2 separate regions of the Homo sapiens genome follow, and region 1 is linked to region 2. Evidence: promoter capture Hi-C in 16 types of primary human blood cells and fetal thymus (Javierre and others, 2016). All regions are on one chromosome and are shown on one strand. Each heading gives the region's core, a stretch centred on a gene start or on the middle of the fragment in contact. The rest is flanking DNA. Distances are from core to core; before and after follow the strand shown. Region 1 overlaps NUP214 (nucleoporin 214). Region 2 holds the start of UCK1 (uridine-cytidine kinase 1).

Region 1 (3,803 bases), core at 1,132-3,631, 400 kb after region 2:
AGAGTATCCATTTTCTTTGGTGCCCATAGTTAGACAAACAGACCTTTAAAGACAGACTCAGTTAAAAGACAAATACTGTGCTTTAACCCAGAGTGATTCTGCATTATCATCATAGTTTTTTCACTAACTCTTTTCCCTTGAGCTGTTTTTATGGAATGGACTGAAAAAGGTGGGGAACAGCGCATAGCGTATGATCACATTTTACATAAAAACAACAACAAAAAAAAAGCAGCTACCCATAGACTATTTGTATAACATCCAGAAAAGTATGGAAGGCTATCTACTCAACACAACATAGTGGGTGCCTCTGGAAGAAGGACTATGGGAAAGGGAAGAGTTCCACTCTTCATTCACTGATGGATTTGTTACAATGAGTATAAATTACTTTTTAATAGGAAAAACAAGAAAGATACTCCCAAACCACCCCCAAAAAAGTGGGCAACTTAAGAAAAATTCTGAAGTTCAAGATAAGAACTTACAGGAAGATACTGGACCACAGTTCCATTCTGTTTTCCCACTGCCAGCTGCTTTCCTTTGGGGCTCCAGCACACTGAGCAAAGACAGTATTACCAAATGAAAACAAGAAAATGGAGCAAACCAATAAGATCTATCACACACAGCTAATTATCAATTCTCATTCCTCTGTCAGTCCATGGAAGATTGTAGGATCATCTCTATCAGGCAAAGTGGAAAAAAGTAAAATCATTTTAACGATATAAGCCAATTGATTTATCACTGGGCTATTGAATTGAAAGCTAAAAATGCTTTTTCAATAGATTACTGCCCAGAAAGCTGCAAAATACAGAAAACTCTGTAGTCTTTACATAAGACAAGGAGAACAGAGAAGGTTTCCAAATACCAAGAAATCACTGGCCGGGCACAGTGGCTCATGCCTGTAATCCCAGCACTTTGGGAGGATGAGACGGACGGATCACTTGAGGTCAGAAGTTCAAGACCAGCCTGGCCAACATGGTGAAACCCCGTCTCTACTAAAATATACAAAAATTAGCTGGGCATGGTGGCAGGCACCTGTAATCCCAACTACTCTGGAGTCTGAGGCAAGAGAATTGCTTGAACCCAGCAGGTGGAGGTTGCAGTGAGCTGAGATCGCGCCACTGCACTCCAGCCTGGGCGACAGAGCAAGACTCTGTCTCAAAAAAAAAACAAAAAAAAAAAAACAAAACCAGAAATCATTCTCCTGCTCCCATTTAATATTTAAAATGCTTTTCCGCCCAAAGGTACAAATGACTTTCAGAGTACCACCGTTACAGATCCAGAAACAATTATTCCCAAAAAACACTTCTAAACCAGCTGTACCAAAATATTTCTCCAGAAATCCCAAGTACATTCAGGTTAAATTATGTATGCTGTTTGGCTTCAAGGACATTAACTATGGGTATAAAGAATACTCTCAGCCGGGCACAGTGCCTCACACCTGTAATCCTAGCATATGCGGGGTGGAGGAGGGCAGATCACTTGAGGTCAGGAGTTCAAGACCAGCCTGGCCAACATGGTGAAACCTTGTCTCTACAAAAAATACAAAAATTAGCTGGGCATGGTGGCGCATGTCTATAATCCCAGCTATTTGGGTGGCCGAGGCACGAGAATTGCTTGAACCCAGGAGGTGGAGGTTGCAGTGGCTGAGATGATGCCACTGTACTCCAGCCTGGGCGACACAGTGAGACTGTCTCAAAAAAGAATACCTTCCATCCTTAACCTCCCTCGTCATGAAAAAAAAAACCAAAACACAAAAAGCTATCCACTTTCACTTCTAGAAATCAATTCTTAAGTAGATGACCATGATTGTATGCTACAGTGTGAAAGCCTTTATTACTCACCAGAGGTTACTGCTACCGTGGAAGGAAGAGTTGCACATACTTTCACTGTTTCCGTGACTTGCAGGACAGCAATACTACCATCAGCCAGACAAACTGCCACCATGGAGGGGACAGTGGGGTTCCACTTCATATCAATCACCATGCCTCCTGCATCTTTCAAAAGCTTATGATAGGCAAATGGGCGTTTTTGCTGTTTAGCCTTTTAAAACAAATATGCAAAAGTGAAATAAGTTAACAAATAGTAAATGCAGAAACATTTAATATTCAATGGAAATTACTGAATACACAAGGTATCTCAAATCAGTTTATTTTTCTCCATAACCATAAAAAAAGATTGTTTTATGCATCAATCTATTTGCTATAGACAATTTCAACACAACTTTGAAAATGGCAATCAATTATTCTAACATGCTTAGGGGGACTCTCAGAAGGGGAATGCACAATTGCAAAATAACCAATAAATAGCAGACAATAGATTAAAATCTTGGCTCTGCTTCTTAATAATGTTGGGACCTTGGACAGTTACTTAAACTCTGAGCCTGTTTCTCTACCTATAAAATGAAGATAATAGTACCTACTACATAAGGCTGTGGTAGGCATGAACGAGGGACAAGGCATATAAAGCACTTAGTACAGAGTCTAACACACACAGTCAGTATAAACACTCACTATTATTATCATTCTTAAACTGCTTGGAATGGAAGAACATCCAAAATGTAGGAACTTTTGACATTATGTATTCATCTATGACTTTGGGCAAGTCACCTAAGCCTCCTGATAACAACTTAGGGCAGATGGCGTTATGAAAGAATTTCTTGAAGTCCCTTCTGTCTCAAAGATCTATGATTCTATAATTAAGGATTTTTTTTTAACCCATATTTTAATCTAGAGAGAAACTTCAAGGGTTAACCTATGAAGCTTCCAAGTTGTAATTCAATACAAGGAAATCTGCTTAGGGTTCTCATGTTGACATCACAGTATAACAGTAGCTTACCTCATTTGAGAATGTGCGAACATCAAAAAAAGCAATAATGGAACCATATTCACTGGACATCATGCACGCAGAGAGTGTGAGGTTATCACAGCTCAAGGCCAGGTGATGGATTGGGAATTTCATAGGAACTAGCAAGCCTTGGACTTTATCAACTATGAAAACAAAAAAATACAAAGCAGAAAACGGTATGTTCTAAGCATAAAGCCACAACCTCTATCCAGTTCGATGTGAAAAAATTTTTGCATCTACATAAACACACATACACCCCAATACCTAGTTATACAGATAAATCTTAACTTTCTTAAAGATATATAATGATGGATTAAGTATCCCTGGAATTCTTCCTCATACAATCTGGGGAAACTAACTGTGGCTGCTGCCCTTGTTGAAAATATTTTTGCAACAATGCTCTAAATAGTACACCTTGCCAATAGTTTGGATCATACTGTTGTGCCAACTGAAAACCCATGCCAATAAAACCCTTCACCCAGAGAGCCAGAGCCCAAGTTCAACTGAGCAAAAATAAAAGCATGGCATAATGGTTAAGTTCTTCCCTGTTGAGCTGAGAGGAACAACTCATGTAAGGAGAAATACAAAGGACCAAGGAGAAAACCTAGAAAGGCTTCCATTAATCTTCTTGGGAGTCAACCTTCAAACTGACAGCAGTGTTCATTTTAGTATTAGAATGACTTCTTGGGAAGGAAACACAAGAGCATGCCACCATACTCCTCTCTCTACTTTGCAACATAAACCAGGGAACTTACCTATTTTGTTGGGATCATCTCCGGGTTTATTTTGAATAAGAAGATTTTTAGTAGGAAAAATCTGCAAGCCACTGGCTCCACCAGCGAAGACCAGACCATATTTGTTGGACACAGCAAGCAGACTCGAGCGTTCCTTGGGCAATTCCTCAGGGGAGTCAAAGATTCTCACCTTCTTTAGCGCTCTAAACTGAAAATCCTGTTGTGAAG
Region 2 (3,773 bases), core at 565-3,064:
GTCAGACTCTGCTAGTTTCCCTGCCTTTCGCTACGTGGCTGGACCACAGGGGAAGAAATGGCAAGAAACCGTGTCTAACTCTCCCTTGATACAAATTCAAAGTTGGCTTGGGGGATGGCCACCTTTGGGACACACACCTGGACAGATCTAAGCCAGCAGCGTGGCTGTTTGCTAGGCACTGTTCTGTGCCTGGGGCTTAATTTACAGAGGTACGGCTGAATGACCATGAGGAGAGGCCAAAGCCATCGCAAGATTGATCGCATTTCCTGAGAGAAGGGGCACCCATGCCATGCACGGTTCTCAGTAGAGAACCCCAGGTTTGGTCAGGAGGCAGAAGCAGGGGCGAGGGGAGAGCCCAGGCCTGAGGCTTTCTTGGGGTTTCCATGGAAAAGGCCTGGCAGGGCAGGGAAAGAGTTTAAAATTGGCTAGTTTGAGTAATTCTAGCAGGCTCTGGGCTGCAGAGTGGTCTCTAGTCACCTGATACCTGGCCCTGGGTGACTTAGGGCAGGGAGAATCTTGCCTCCAAAGGCGAGAATTAGATAAGGAGGTAGCTGGGGCTGTAGACTTGGGGTCTTTTTTTTTTTTTTTTTTTTTTTTGAGACAGAGTCTCACTCTTTCCCCCAGGCCGGAGTGCAGTAGCGTGATCTTGGCTCACTGCAAGCTCCACCTCCCGGGTTCACACCATTCTCCTGCCTCAGCCTCCCGAGTAGCTGGGACCACAGGCGCCCGCCACCATGCCCGGCTAATTTTTTGTATTTTTAGTAGAGACGGGGTTTCACCATGTTAGCCAGGATGGTCTCGATCTCCTGACCTCGTGATCCACCCGCCTCGGCCTCCCAAAGTGCTGGGATTACAGGTGTGAGCCACCGCGTCCGCCCGGGGTTGTCTGTTTTGTATATGAAAAGCATGCTCTGCCCCGAGCCTTAGCTATCTCTCTCTCTTTTTTATTTTTGAGACGGAGTCTTGCTCTGTGGCCCAGGCTGGAGTGCAGTGGCACCATCTCGGCTCACTGCAACCTCCACCTCCCGGGTTCAAGCGATTCTCCTGCCTCAGCCTCCCAAGTAGCTGGGATTACAGGCGCCCGCCACCACGCCCAGCTGATTTGTTGCATTTTTAGTAGAGGCGGGGTTTCACCGTGTTCGCCAGGATGGTCTCGATCTCCTGACCTCGTGATCTACCCGCCTCAGCCTCCAAAAGTGTTGGGATTACAGGCGTGAGCCACCGCGCCCGGCTGGAAATCCATAATTTCAATGGATCAGAATTTGCCTGTCACGTTCTCTGTGCCAGGCACGGAGCGGGGGGGCGGCAGGGATGGAACCCGGCACATGGGCCTCTGCCTCCTTGGCGCGCTGTAGGCGCGAGCCTAAAGTCATCAGGCGACAGCCCCCGCCACGTTCCGGGGCGCCCCGACGGCTCCAGCAGCGGGTGGGGTGGGAGGCGTCCGGACAGTCCGGAGGCCTCGATGGCCAAGAGGAGCCTGGGCTGGAGGGGGCCAGGCCCGGGGGCGGCCGGGGGAGGGCCCGGGACTGGCGCAGAGGCAGCGCGAGGCAGAGGCAAGCACTCGGACGAAGGCGCAGCCCCAGCCTCGGGGTGCGGAACGGGCACCTTCCGGGCCACTTGAGTCTGAGACCTTGTAGCCGGCTCGAGGCCCGGGCGCAGCAGTCCCTGCCAGCCAGCTTTCGGCGCAATGGGACGCGGGCGCTCCTGGTGTGCCGGCCTCGGGCCCTGCACCCTCACGCATGCGCGGCCCCCCCCCCCCCGGTGGACTACAACTCCCGGCGTGCCCCGCGCGCCTCCCGGAAGTGATCGCTCCGGTTGCCTCCGACCTCGGCGCTGGGCGGGCGCGCCGGGCCTGGGGAAGGGGCGGGCGCGGGGACCCGATGCGCGGGAGCGGAGGCCGAGATGGCTTCGGCGGGAGGCGAAGACTGCGAGAGCCCCGCGCCGGAGGCCGACCGTCCGCACCAGCGGCCCTTCCTGATAGGGGTGAGCGGCGGCACTGCCAGCGGGAAGGTAAGGGGCCGAGCGGGCCGGGGTCTCGCCTCTCGCCGGTGCCTACGGGCGGCCCGGTCCAGAGAGGAGACCCCAGCCCCGGCCGAGGGGCCCCCTGCCAGGCAGGGGCAGGGCGCGGGAGCGAAGGGGCTGCAGGCCGCGATGGGCCGGGGCGGGCTGGGGCGGGCGAGGGGTTGGGGCGCTGGGCCTCGGGGCTCCCCCACAGCCTCTCCGCCGGCCGGGCTCCTCGGAGCCCCAAGTCCGTGCTAACCCCGTTGGGCCCCCGCGGCCCTTCCGCTGAGACCATCCACACCTGTTGGTGTCCTCCCGCCTTCCGAGCATACCCCCCAGGGGGCGGGTGGGTCAGTGTCTCCAGAAGCCGGCCCCGTGCCTGTCACAGGACGAGCGGTTCCAGGCGGGAATCCCGCTTCTGTGTCTCCAGTCGACCGTGTGTGAGAAGATCATGGAGTTGCTGGGACAGAACGAGGTGGAACAGCGGCAGCGGAAGGTGGTCATCCTGAGCCAGGACAGGTTCTACAAGGTCCTGACGGCAGAGCAGAAGGCCAAGGCCTTGAAAGGACAGTACAATTTTGACCATCCAGGTAAATCGCGAGCCCAACGATGTGGGGAGGGCAGACCCCATTCTGGGCGGCCGCTAACCAGCTGCGCTTGGGCCCAAGGTTGGATGGATGCAGACCCGCTTGGGCTGTTCCCCCAACTCGCCACGCAGCCTGCAGTGGAGTTGGCTGCACAGTGAAGTCAGGGGAACTTTGCTGAGTTCTCTGGGCCCTGAGTGTCCCCCCAGGAGCGTGGTTGGAGCCAGTCAGGAAGCCTGTTGCACTGTGGGGAGCCCTGCCCTGCCCTGCCACAACTGTGATCCTGGAGAAATCCTCCCATCTTCCCTTCCCACGTTGGGGCCTTTAGGGCCCTCCACACACACCTCTGCCCACTGTGCCCTCCCGTGCTTTGGGGCAAAGTCCTCAGAGAGGCCAGTGTGGGAGGCGGTAGGTAAACTAGTGCTGGTGGCTTGAAGCTCCGGGCCAGGTAAACGGGCAGATGCGGCAGGGAGACACCTGCCACTGCTAGAAGATTCCACCCTGGCTGGCTGGCATGGTCAGCCTTTTCCCAAGGACTTGTGGGAAGAAGGCCTGCAAAGCCGCAGTCTAACCAGTTAGTCCCAGAAAGAGAGAGAAGCAGAGGCCCAGCCTACCCACCTCCCAGGAAGAGCTGATCAGAAAACCCCTGTGTTCCGGCATCTCAGGGGCACAGAGCTTGGGCAGTGGCACAGCCCGAGAACAGCAAGGACAGGGTCATCCTGTGGTCTGCAGGGCTGCAGAGGGCACTGTTGCTACCAAACATACACTGCCGTAGTCCTAGTCTACCTGTGCTAGGGTTCTCGGTGTCCCCAGCACCCAGCTGTGCTGACCCCAGAGCAGAGAGGGTTCCCTGCTGTCCGCTGCACGAGGGCATCTGCCTGTCTTGCCTTTGTCTCCAACCCTGCAGATGCCTTTGATAATGATTTGATGCACAGGACTCTGAAGAACATCGTGGAGGGCAAAACGGTGGAGGTGCCGACCTATGATTTTGTGACACACTCAAGGTAAGCAGGTGGTTCTAGGGAGGGCCGAGGAGAGGGGCCAGCTAGGACGTCCCCTCGGGCTCACACAGACCTGCCTGGCGGCAGGCCTCCCCCGGTTGGTTTCTGTGGGTCCCCCACCCCTTCCCACAGTCAGTGTCCCTGCAATGGAAGCTGACTGTGTGTGTGGCCTGGAGACCCTGTGTCT

The links. Contacts are between HindIII fragments. The CHiCAGO score rates a contact against its expected background, and 5 or more counts as called.
Region 1: a contact is called between a fragment that was not itself captured here and the fragment with the promoter of UCK1 in region 2, in 3 of 17 cell types (total CD8 T cells, fetal thymus and non-activated CD4 T cells). The highest score is 6.6, in total CD8 T cells.

What each region holds. Positions count from the first base shown.
Region 1 is chr9:131,127,513-131,131,315 of GRCh38, reverse strand. NUP214 (nucleoporin 214) reads right to left here. Exons shown (of 36, transcript NM_005085.4): 2 at 3,597-3,792; 3 at 2,833-2,984; 4 at 1,839-2,037; 5 at 480-550. Among named protein-coding and RNA genes, the nearest start is that of NUP214, 3.8 kb to the right of the region's middle. The HindIII fragment of the contact is 755 bases long and covers 2,004-2,758 here.
Region 2 is chr9:131,529,304-131,533,076 of GRCh38, reverse strand. UCK1 (uridine-cytidine kinase 1) reads left to right here and starts at 1,814. Exons shown (of 7, transcript NM_031432.5): 1 at 1,814-2,010; 2 at 2,432-2,591; 3 at 3,493-3,589. The coding sequence starts at 1,903. RefSeq lists silencers at 1,409-1,578, 1,719-2,078, 2,279-2,328 and enhancers at 1,744-2,657, 3,363-3,773. The HindIII fragment of the contact is 8,496 bases long and covers 1-3,773 here.